4 separate regions of the Homo sapiens genome follow, and all the other regions are linked to region 4. The links are contacts of gene promoters, found by promoter capture Hi-C in human tissues and cell types (Jung and others, 2019). All regions are on one chromosome and are shown on one strand. The core of a region is centred on a gene start or on the middle of the fragment in contact, and the rest is flanking DNA. Distances in the headings are between cores, read along the strand shown. Region 1 overlaps SLC30A5 (solute carrier family 30 member 5). Region 2 has its middle 15 kb from the start of SLC30A5. Region 3 has its middle 21 kb from the start of SNORA50D. Region 4 holds the start of CCDC125 (coiled-coil domain containing 125).

Evidence for each region. The method cuts DNA at HindIII sites, captures the fragments that hold promoters and counts their contacts. A contact is called where the count stands out against the background at its distance.
Region 1: a fragment that was not itself captured here is called in contact with the fragment with the promoter of CCDC125 in region 4 in 4 of the 25 tissues and cell types used here (H1 embryonic stem cells, aorta, liver and 1 more).
Region 2: a contact is called between a fragment that was not itself captured here and the fragment with the promoter of CCDC125 in region 4, in 1 of the 25 tissues and cell types used here (spleen).
Region 3: a fragment that was not itself captured here is called in contact with the fragment with the promoter of CCDC125 in region 4 in 2 of the 25 tissues and cell types used here (aorta and heart right ventricle).

What each region holds. Positions count from the first base shown.
Region 1 is chr5:69,105,255-69,107,954 of GRCh38, reverse strand. The region is part of intron 4 of SLC30A5 (solute carrier family 30 member 5); the gene reads right to left. Among named protein-coding and RNA genes, the nearest start is that of SLC30A5, 13 kb to the right of the region's middle. The HindIII fragment of the contact is 3,959 bases long and covers 1-2,700 here.
Region 2 is chr5:69,077,245-69,080,102 of GRCh38, reverse strand. No RefSeq gene overlaps it. Among named protein-coding and RNA genes, the nearest start is that of SLC30A5, 15 kb to the left of the region's middle. The HindIII fragment of the contact is 8,551 bases long and covers 1-2,858 here.
Region 3 is chr5:69,137,993-69,140,692 of GRCh38, reverse strand. No RefSeq gene overlaps it. Among named protein-coding and RNA genes, the nearest start is that of SNORA50D, 21 kb to the left of the region's middle. The HindIII fragment of the contact is 6,104 bases long and covers 1-2,700 here.
Region 4 is chr5:69,331,521-69,334,247 of GRCh38, reverse strand. It overlaps CCDC125 (coiled-coil domain containing 125), which reads left to right and starts at 1,447. Exons shown (of 12, transcript NM_176816.5): 1 at 1,447-1,599. It also overlaps the pseudogene CHCHD2P2. The HindIII fragment of the contact is 34,363 bases long and covers 1-2,727 here.

The sequences.
Region 1 (2,700 bases), core at 191-2,690, 230 kb after region 4:
TCGAGACCACTCTGGCCAACATGGTGAAACCCCATCTCTACTAAAAATACAAAAATTGGCTGGGCGTGGTGGCACATGCCTGTAATCCCAGCTACTCGGGAGGCTGAGGCAGGAGAATCACTTGAACTCGGGAGGTGGAGGTTGCAGTAAGCCAAGATCGGGCCACTGCATGCCAGCCTGGTGACACAGTGAGACTCCATCTCAAAAAAAAAAAAAAAAAGTACAGGCAACATATACCCATGTGCTGCATAACATTATTTTGGTCAATGGTAGACCACATATATACGATGGTGGTGCCATAAGATTATAATGGAGCTGAGAAATTCCAGTCACCTAGTGTTAATGCATTACTCATGTGTTTCTGGTGATGCTGGTGTAAACAAGCCTACTGCACTGCCAGTCATATAATACAGTACATACAATTATATACAGAACATAAGACTTGATAATGATAATAAATGACTATGCTACTGGTTTATGTATTTACTATACTATAAATTATTTTAGAATGTACTTTTGCTTGTTAAAAATAAAAGTAACTATATCCTTTGACTTCAAATAGTGGTGTCAAAAACAAAAAAAAAGTTAACTGTAAAATAGCTTCAGACAGGTCCTTCAGGAGGTACCCCAGAAGAAGGCATTGTTATAGGAGATGACAATTCCTTGCATGTTACTGCCCCTGAAAACTTTCTAGTGGGACAAGATGTGGAGGTAGAAGACAGTAATATTGATAATCCTGACCCTGTGTAGGTATAGGCTAATGTGTGCATGTCTTAGTTTTTAACAAAAAAGTGCCAGGAGCAGTGGCTCATGCCTGTAATCCCAGCACTTTGGGAGGGTGAGAAGGGTGGATCCTTGAGCCCAGGAGTTTGAGACCAGCCTGGGCCACATGGCAAAACCTGCTATCAAAAAAGATACAAAAGTTAGCCAGGTGTGGTGGTAGGCACCTGTAGTCCCAGCTACTGGTGAGGCTGAGGTGGGAGGATCCCTTGAGCCAAGGAGATGGAGGTTGCAGTGAGCCAAGACTGTGCCATATACTCTAGTCTGAATGACAGAGCAAGATCCTGTCTCCAAAAAAAAAAAGTTGAAAAAAAATTAAAAACAGAAAAAAAGCTTACAGAATAAGGATATAAAGAAAAAATATTTTTGTACAGTTGTACAATGTGTTTATGTTTTAAGCTGTTTTTACAAAAGAGTAAAGTATGCTAAGGTTAAGCTTCTACCTCCTGAGGTCAGGTGATCTCTTCCACCTCAGCCTTCTAGGTAGCTGGGATTACAGGCACGCAGCACCATGCCTGGCTAATTTTTTGTAGAGATGGGATTTTGCCATGTTGTCCAGGCTGGTCTCGAACTTCTGGGCTCAAGCTATCTGCCCACCTCGGCTTCCCAAAGTGCTGGGATTAAAATTTTTGCAATTGAGAAACTGCATAATGGTTTTAGTAGAAGAATGAGAGGGCAGTGTTGGTAGTGATAAGGTCAGGAGCTAGATGACTAAATAGGGAACCAAGTAAAGATGTAAGTACTTCCTCTTTCCCTCCTTATTGTAACACAAAAGGACAGTGATATAGTAACACAGGAACCAAAACATAATTTCATGAATAACAAATTTAAAATATTACAGATGATAAGCAATAGCAGCACTCAATCATATTCAAGCATACGGTGAAAAACCTCTTCCCAAGCTAGGAAATTCAGCTAGCTTTCTCAGCCCTCCAAGCTGCAGCTGCTACTGTGGCTAGAGATATGACATTTCCAATTATACCTACTCTGCATCTGACAAAGTACATGACAAACAAGTCAAAGGGATCCCAATCCAGAAGCTATTCTATTGGCCATGAGAGGGGAAAGGACTTTTCACAAAGCATTTCCACATTTCTCACCCTTCACTTTCCACTCTGTCTACCCCACTATTCTGAGTGAGATCCTTTAGAACAGTGGTCCCCAACCTTTTTGGCACCAGGGTCTGGTTTCCTGGAAGACAATTTTTCCAGACAGCAGTGGTGGGGGGATGTTTTAGGACATAACTGTTCCACCTCAGATCATCAGACATTAGATTCTCATAAGGAGCATGCAACCTAGATATCCCTCCCATGCACAGTTCACAACAGGGTTCCTGCTCCCATGAGAATCTAATGCCATTGCTGATCTGACAGGAGGTAGAGCTCACGCAGTAATGCTTGCTCCCCCGTGGCTCACCTCCTGCTCTGTGGCCTGGTTCCTAATGAGTTATGAACCCATACTGGTCTATAGCCAGGGGGTGGGGGATCTCTCTGCTTTAGAACATTCTTTTTTTTTTTGAGACGGAGTCTCGCTCTGTTGCCCAGCCTGCAGTGCAGTGGCGTGATCTCGGCTCACTGCAACCTTCGCCTCCTGAGTTCAAGTGATTTCTGGCTAATTTTTGTATATTTTTTAATAAAGGCGGGGTTTTGCTATGTTGGCTAGGGTGGTCTCCAACTCGTAACTTCAAATGATCCACCCCTTGGCCTCCCAAAGTGCTAGCATTACAGGCGTGAGCCACAGTGCTGGCCAAGAACATTCTTCATTTCACTCCTTACCTCTCATTCTCACGGCAAGGCATTTTTTCTTACACTTATTCACTAAGTAAAATCCTTTACAGATGGGGAAATGTTAAAAGAATGCTCATACACAGCTGCATGATACAATTCCTATCAATGGTCCCTAAGCATTTCCTCCTTAAAC
Region 2 (2,858 bases), core at 35-2,534, 250 kb after region 4:
CCCTCTGTTTTTAACCCTAGAAGGAAAGTAACTATGAAATGGCCAATTTACCTTTTGGTCTCTGTTTCTGTTTTCTTCGGCCCTTTTTGGCCTACAAAGCCAACCTCCTCTGCTCTGTCTACCAGAACACCCATTCTATTTCATACAGTGAGGTGTTGCCTGATTCTACAATCACAAATAAAAGCCAATTGGATTTTTAAACTAAATTTGTTGTAATTTTGTCTTTTTTTTGGTTTGTTCTGAGACGGAGTTTCACTCTGTCACCCAGGCTGGAGTGAAGTAGTGCGATCTCGGCTCACTGTAACCTCTGCTCCTGCCAGGTTCAAGCAATTCTCTTGCCTCAGCCTTCCAAGTAGCTGGGAATATAGGCACCTGCCACCACACTCGGCTAATTTTTGTATTTTTAGTAGATACGGGGTTTCACCAGGTTGGCCAGCCTGGTATCAAACTGACTTCAGGTTACCCACCTGCCTCGGCCTCTCAAAGTGCTAGGATTACAGGCCTGAGCCACTGTGCCCAGCCTGTAATTTTGTCTTTTGAAATAAATTAAAGTCAAACACCCTAATAGCAAATAGGCAAAGGAATGAACAGATAAGAGACAGTATAATTTAGCCTGAATGGCTACAGCCATATGAAAAGATGCTCAATCCTATTAGTAACAGGGAATTTCAAATGGAAACCACAGTGAAATACAATTCTGTATTCTTTGGATTGGCAACACTTTTGAAGTGTTATGACATCAAATGTGGTGTGGACCTTGCCCACTGCCTAGACAGAGCCGATTTCTCAAGACAGGGCAACTGCAATAGAGAAAGAGTAATTTAGGCAGAACTGGTTGTGCGAGAGACTGGAGTTTTATTATTAATTCAAATCTGTCTTCCTGAGCATTTGAGGAGCAGAGTTTTTAAGGACAACTTGGTGGGGGGAAGCCAGTAAGCCAGGAGTGCTGATTGGTCAAGGATGAAATCATAAGGAGTCAAAGCTGTCATCTGGAGCTGAGTCAGTTCCTGGGTGGGGGCCACAAGATCAGGTGAGCCAGTTTATTGATCTGGGTGGTGCCAGCTGATGCATCAAGTGCAGGGTCTGCAGAATATCTCAAGTACTGATCTTAGGAGCAGTTTAGGGAGGGTCAGAATCTTAGAATCTTGTAGCCTCCAGCTGCATGACTCCAAAACCATAATGTCTAATCTTGTGGCTAATGTTAGTCTTACAGAGGTAGTCTAGTCCCCAGGCAAGAAGGAGGTCTGCTTTGGGAAAGGGCTGTTATCGTCCTTGTTCCAAACTATAAACTATAAACTAAGTTTCTCCCAAAGTTTGTTCAGCTTATGCCCAGGAATGAACAAGGACAGCTTGGAGGTTAGAAGCAAGATGAAGTCGATTAAGTTAGATCTCTTTCACTGTCTCAGTCACAATTGTGCAAAGGTGGTTTCAGACATGAGAAAGGGAACTGACTTCTTTGGGAGAGCACATCATTAAAATTCCTTTGCAGAGCAATTTGGCATCATTTAGTAAAGTTGAAGATGCACAATTATTTGATAGCAATTTTACTCCAGGATGAACATCCTAGGGCAGTTGTTCTAAAGTGCGTTCTTCAGGCCAACAGCATCAACATCGCTTAAGGACTTGTTAGAAATGAATTAGAAACTCTGGGGGTGGGATTCAACGGTCTATTGTTTAATAAAACTCTCAGGTGATTCTGATGCTTTCTAAAATTTGAGGGCCACTGGCCTAGAGAAATACTTGCATATCAACACAAGGAGTCAGATTTGGGGTTCATTTTGGCATTGATGGTAATAGAACAGATGGGGTAACAATTTAAATGCTCATCAAGGCTGGGTGTGGTGGCTCACGCCTGTAATCCCAGCACTTTGGGAGGCCGAGGCGGAAGGATCACGAGGTCAGGAGATCAAGACCGTCCAGGCTAACATGGTGAAACTCCGTCTCTACTAAAAATGCAAAAAATTAGCTGGGTGTGGTGGCAGGTGCCTGTAGTCCCAGCTACTTGGGAGGCTGAGGCAGGAGAATGGCGTGAACCCGGGAGGCGGAGCTTGCAGTGAGCTGAGATCTCACTACTGCACTCCAGCCTGGGTGACAGAGCGAGACTCTGTCTCAAAAAAAAAAAAAATGCTCATCAGTATGATACACAATGAAAAATTACATATTCATATCGTGGAACACTATATAGCAGATAAAATGAGTGAATTAAAATTATGTGTATTAAGCTAAATAAATATTAAACTTGAGTGATAAGACTTAGGAATTTTCAGAAAGCAAACACACAAACACCCCCTTCCCGCCAAAGAAAACTTGAGTGGGAAAAATAAGCTTGGAAGGACATATACAGTATTATACAACTTCTGTAAAGTCAAAAATCATGCCAAACAATATTATCTTTTGTTAAGAAGTAGATACTTGTGTAGTAAAAGTATAAATACATAAAAGAGAATGACAAATGCTAAATTAAAGATATTGTACTGGGAATGTGATAGGGAGGGGAGTCTGTTGTGTTTAGAAATGTTTTATTTTAGACTGAGTGGGTGTTCATTATATTACCTAATGTATTCTCTTTCTTTCTTTTTTTTTTTTTTTTTGAGATGGAGTCTCGCTCTGTCATCCAGGCTGGAGTGCAGTGGCTCAATCTCGGCTCACTGCAAGCTCCGCCTCCCGGGTGCACGCCATTCTCCTGCCTCAGCCTCCCGAGTAGCTGCGACTACAGGTGCCCGCCACCACGCCTGGCTAATTTTTTGTATTTTTAGTAGCGATGGGGTTTCACCATGTTAGCCAGGATGGTCTCGATCTCCTGACCTCGTGATCTGCCCGTCTCGGCCTCCCAAAGTGCTGGGATTGCAGGCGTGAGC
Region 3 (2,700 bases), core at 146-2,645, 190 kb after region 4:
CTTGAGTAACATACCACAAACACAGGCAGCCAAAGCCAAAATGTACAAGTAGGATTACATCAAGTTAAAAAGCTTCTGCCGAGCAAAAGAAACAATCAACAAAGTGAAGAGAAACCCACAGAATGGGAGAAAATATTTGCAAACTATCCATTTGACAAAGGATTAATAACCAGAATATGTAAGGAGCTCAAACAACTCTATAGTAAAAAATCTAATAATCCGATTTAAAAATGGGCAAAAGAGCTGAATAGACATTTCTCAAAAGACATACAAATGGCAAACACATTTAGGAAAGGAGCTCAACAGCATTGAGCATCAGAGAAATGCAAATCAAAACTGCAATGAGATATCATCTCACTTCAGTTAAAATGGCTTCTATTGGCCAGACTCATGCCTGTAATCCCAGCACTTGGGAAGGCTGAGGCAGGCGGATCACTTGTGTTGAGGAGATCGAGACCAGTCTGGCCAACATGTCAAAACCCTGTCTCTACTAGTAATACAAAAATTAGCCAGGCGTGGTGGCACGCACCTGTAATCCCAGCTACTTGAGAGGCTGAGGCAGGAGAATTGCTGGAACCCAGGAGGCAGTGGCTGCAGTGAGTTCAGATCATGCCACTGCACTCCAGCTTGGGTGACAGAGCGAGACCCTGTCTCAAAAAGAAAAGAAAAGAAAAGAAAAGAAAAAAAAGGCTTATAGCCAGAAGACAGGCAATAACAAACACTGGCGAGGATGTGGAGAAAAGGGAACCCTTGTCCACTGTAGATGTGAATGTGAATTAGTACAACCACTATGGAGAACAGTTTGGAGGTTCATCAAAAAACTAAAAATAGAGCTCCCATATGATCCAGCAATTCCCCTGCTAGGTATATACCCAAAAGAAAGGCTGTCAGTATATTGAAGAGATATCTTCACTCTCATGTTTATTGTAGCACTATTTACAATAACCAAGATTTGGAAGCAACGTAAGTGTCCATCAACAGACCCAGAGAGCAATCAGTGAAGGCTGAAGTAGAATGACAAGGACGGTAGGCTCTAAGAGGGACGTCGCCAAGCAAAAAATAAATAAATAAAATTGGTAGCTGATGTATTGGAACAGGCTGAGAAGAAATTTATAAAACTAGGCAAATGATAAAAAACAAGGCCATGGCCGGGCGCGGTGGCTCACGCCTGTAATCCCAGCACTTTGGGAGGCCCAGGTGGGCGGATCACGAGGTCAGGAGATCGAGACCATCCTGGCCAACATGGTGAAACGCTGTCTCTACTAAAAATACAAAAATTAGCTGGGCGTGGTGGTGCATGCCTGTATTCCTAGCTACTCAGGAGGCTGAGGCAGGATAATCGCTTGAACCCAGGAGGCTGAGGTTGCAGTGAGCTGGGATCGCGCCACTGCACTCCAGCCTGGCAACAGAGTGAGACTCTGTCTCAAAAAAAAACAAAACAAAACAAACAAAAAACCAAAACCAAACAAACAAACAAAAAAAACAAGGCCATATTAAACCTGGAACAAACTAGAAGTTAATATGGAAAATGGAAATATAATCATAATATGTTACATAGGGCATTGTGGCAATTTATAGTCATAATGTTGGAAACACTGAATATTGGTTTTACAAAAGGTTATGATTTACATCAGAGAAATGCAAATTAAAACCAAATGGAGATACTATCTCACACTGGTCAGAATGGCTATTATTAAAAAGTCAAAAAATAACAGCTGTTGGCAAGGATGCAGAGAAAATTGAATGCTTATACACTGTTGATAGGAATGTAAATTTGTTAAATCCTGTGGAAAACAGTATGGAGATTTCTCAAATAACTAAAAATAAAACTATCATTCTACCCTGGAATCCTACTACTGGGTGTCTACCCAAAGGAACAGAAGTTGTTTTATCAAAAAGATGCCTGGCTTGGCTGGGCGAGGTGGCTCACGCCTATAATCCAAGCACTTTGGGAGGCCGAGGTGGGTGGATCACTTGAGGTCAGGAGTTCGAGACTAGCCTGGCCAACATGGTGAAACCTCGTCTCTACTAAAAATAAAAAAATTAGCTGGATATGGTGGTGCACGCCTGTAATCCCAGTTCTTTGGAAGGCTGAGGCAAAAGAATCGCTTGAACCTGGGAGGCAGAGTTTGCAGTGAGCTGAGATTGCGCTATTGCATTCCAGCCTGGGCTACAGAACGAGACTCTGTCTCCAAAAAAAAAAAAAAAAAGAAAAAAGAAGACATCTGGCTCATGCCTGTAATCCCAGCACTTTGGGAGGGCGAGGTGGGCAGATCATTTGAGGTCAAGAGCTCGAGACCAGCCTGACCGACATGGTGAAACCCCGTCTCTACTAAAAATAAAAACAAAACAAAACAAAACAAAACAAAAAAATTAGCCAGGCATGGTGCCTGTAATTCCAGCTACTTGGGAGGCTGAGGCAGGAGAATCTCTTGAACCCGAGAGGCAGAGGTTGCTGTGAGCCGAGATCATGCCACTGCATTACAGCCTGTGCGACAGAGAGAGACTGTCTCAAAAAAAAACCAACAAACAAAAAACTTAAAAAAAGAAGACACCTGAACTCATACGTTTATCGCAGCACTGTTTACTATAGCAAAGTCATGGAATCAATCTAGGTGCCCATCAACAGTGGATTGAATAAAGAAAATGTGGTACATATATACCATGAAATACTATGCAGCCATAAAAAAGAAGAATAAT
Region 4 (2,727 bases), core at 198-2,697:
TCTCATAGAAGCAAGGCTGCTGCTGCTGTGCCGGCTGGGTTCCCTGAGGCTCCTGGTAAGTGATGTCAGGCCTCGCAGGCTCAGCATTACTTCCTCCCCTGAAAGCCCCAGTAATGGCGTGACCCACAGCAGAGCCCACAGCCACGCCAGCTGCAGTGGTTGCCATCTGGGCCATCAGACCTGGCTGCCGGGGCGCAGCAGCAGAAGAGCCAACTACAGATGGGGGTGCCGCTGCTGGTGGCTGAACGACTGGTACTGGCCTGGGTGCAGCTCTCATCTGAGGGGGCCTGGCTGGCCGGAGGGGCCATGCGGGAGGTGCGGCTTCGGCTTCCACGCGGCATCCTAGGTACGCGACGGCTCGGCCTCCGGACGTGTGACGACCGGCTAAATTTTGTATTTTAGTGGAGATGGGGTTTCACCATGTTGGCCAGGCTGGTCTCAAACTTCTGACCTCAGGTGATCCACCCACCTTGGCCTCCCAAAGTGCTGGGTTAACAGGCGTGAGCCACCGCACCTGGCCCGATCTACCCTTCTCTTACAGGATTCCTAGAGACTTAATATTTTGGTTTTGGTTTGTTTCTTTTTTGAGACAGGGTCTCCACTCCGTCGCCCAGGCTGGAGTGCAGTGGTCACTGTAGCCTGGATCTCCCAGGCTCACGGGATCCTCCCACCTGACGGCCTCCCGGCCTCCTGAGTAGCTGGGACTACAGGTACGCACCACCACACCCGCTACTTTTTAATTATTTTTTTTTTTTGAGACGGAGACTCGTTCTGTTGCCCAGGCTGGAGTGCAGTGGCACGATCTTGGCTCACTGCAAGCTCCGCCTCCCGGGTTCACGCCATTCTGCCTCAGCCTCCTGCGCAGCTGGGACTACAGGCACCCGCCACCACGCCCGGCTAATTTCTTGTATTTTTAGTAGAGAAGGGTTTTCACTGTGTTAGCCAGGATGGTCTCAATCTCCTGACCTCGTGATCCACCCGCCTCGGCCACCTAAAGTGCTGGGATTACAGGCGTGAGCCACCGCGCCCAGCCCTACTTTTTAAATTTTTTGTAGAGCGGGGTCTCACTATGTTGGCCATGCTGGTCTCGAATTCCTGGCCTCAAGCGATCCTCCCGCCTTGGCCTCCCAAAAGCTGGGATTACAGGTGTGAAACCCCGCGCCGGTCTGAACCTCAATGTTTGAACCACCAAATTTTACCTGTATTGACACAGGCCCCGTCTTGTTGTTTTTCTAAATCTCATGTCATTGTTTGCATATTGGTTACCCGTGGTTGGCTTTGGAGCTGAAGGTGGACAGAGCTAACATCAGGTTGCACACAGGAACACAGTGAGGTCGCGAAAAAGTAGCGCGAGCTGCCTCCATGGCCCAGGGCGACCTCACCGGCGTTTCCTGTCTGGGACTGCGCCCACGCGGTCACGTGGTGGCCCGGAGGACGCGCGGCGGCAGCGGCGCACGCGCACGGAGAGGAGGCTACTTGCCAGGTGAGCGAGCTGAGTGGGGCGCCGGGGCGGTAGGAGGGTGCTGTTCGCTGAGCTGGAGTCCGGGCTCCGGTCCCCGCCACGGACCTTGAGAGGGTACCCGGGGTCAGACCTGGCAGGTGGGAACCGGGAGTGGGGAGGACCCAGGGCAGGGGCGGGATGCGCAGATTCGTGGAAACTCTGCAGGTTGTGGACAAACTGCCCAAATCCTTTTCCCTGAATGCCAGTTTAATGGCCTCGTCTGATAAGAAAAAAATAAGAAATAGATTTCAGAGACCCTATTTCTCTCTCTGCCTCTCCACCTGCTTTACTTTTTTTCTCTTCTGTTAATTTTGAGCCTTATAAAACTATAGCGCCAGTATCCTGGTTTGGATCCTGAAACAGAAAAAGACATTAGTGGAAAAAATAATAAAGGCTGTGGTTTAGTTAATAGCACGTACCCATGTTAATTTCTTAATTTCGACAAATTGTACACAAATGTTGACATTAGAGGAATTTGGGTAAAAGGTACACAGGAATTCTTAGTACTATCTTTGCAATTTACTGTACATCTAAAATTATTCTAAAATGAAAAGTTAAGAAACAAAATCCTAAAGCAAAGTGCAGCAGGCCATTGTTCACCAGGGAGGGCTCAAGTTAGTTCCTCTTTGTCATGGAGTTAGGCATGTTTGACCAACTTGTTTGCTAAGGCAGAGTTGTCAGGCTACTGAATGTAGATTCTTCTGTCCAAAGGTTTCCGGGCAGGAATCGGTTTTCTCTTTCGATTCTGTCAAATATCTTTGGAACACATGTTGTGCATAAGCAAACGAGACACACAAAGTCTCTGCATAAGGGAATATACAGTCAGTCTAGGTCAGGTAGGAAGTAAGCACTATTAAAAAGATTCAGTAAAACCTCCCAGAACTGGGAAGACTCAGATGTGGAAGAAATCACATCTGGTCCAAGGGAGTCAGGAAGGCTACTGGAGGGAGTGCTGTCCTGAACTGAGGGGGCTCTGAGAAGAAACAGCATTCCTGGGGTGAAGAATGGCACCAATAGAGGCTTGCAGGTGACCAAGCTGAGCTGAGGGAGGAGCCCTGGGAGCAAGTGCAGTTCCTCTTACGTGGAAGCGCAGAGTACATCCAGGGAGTACTGCCAGATGAAACTGGAGGTGAAAACTGTAGCTTTGTTGTAGAAAACAGGGTGACACTTCAGTTGGATACATTATTTTTATTTTTATTTTTTTGAAACGGAGTTTCGGCTGGGCG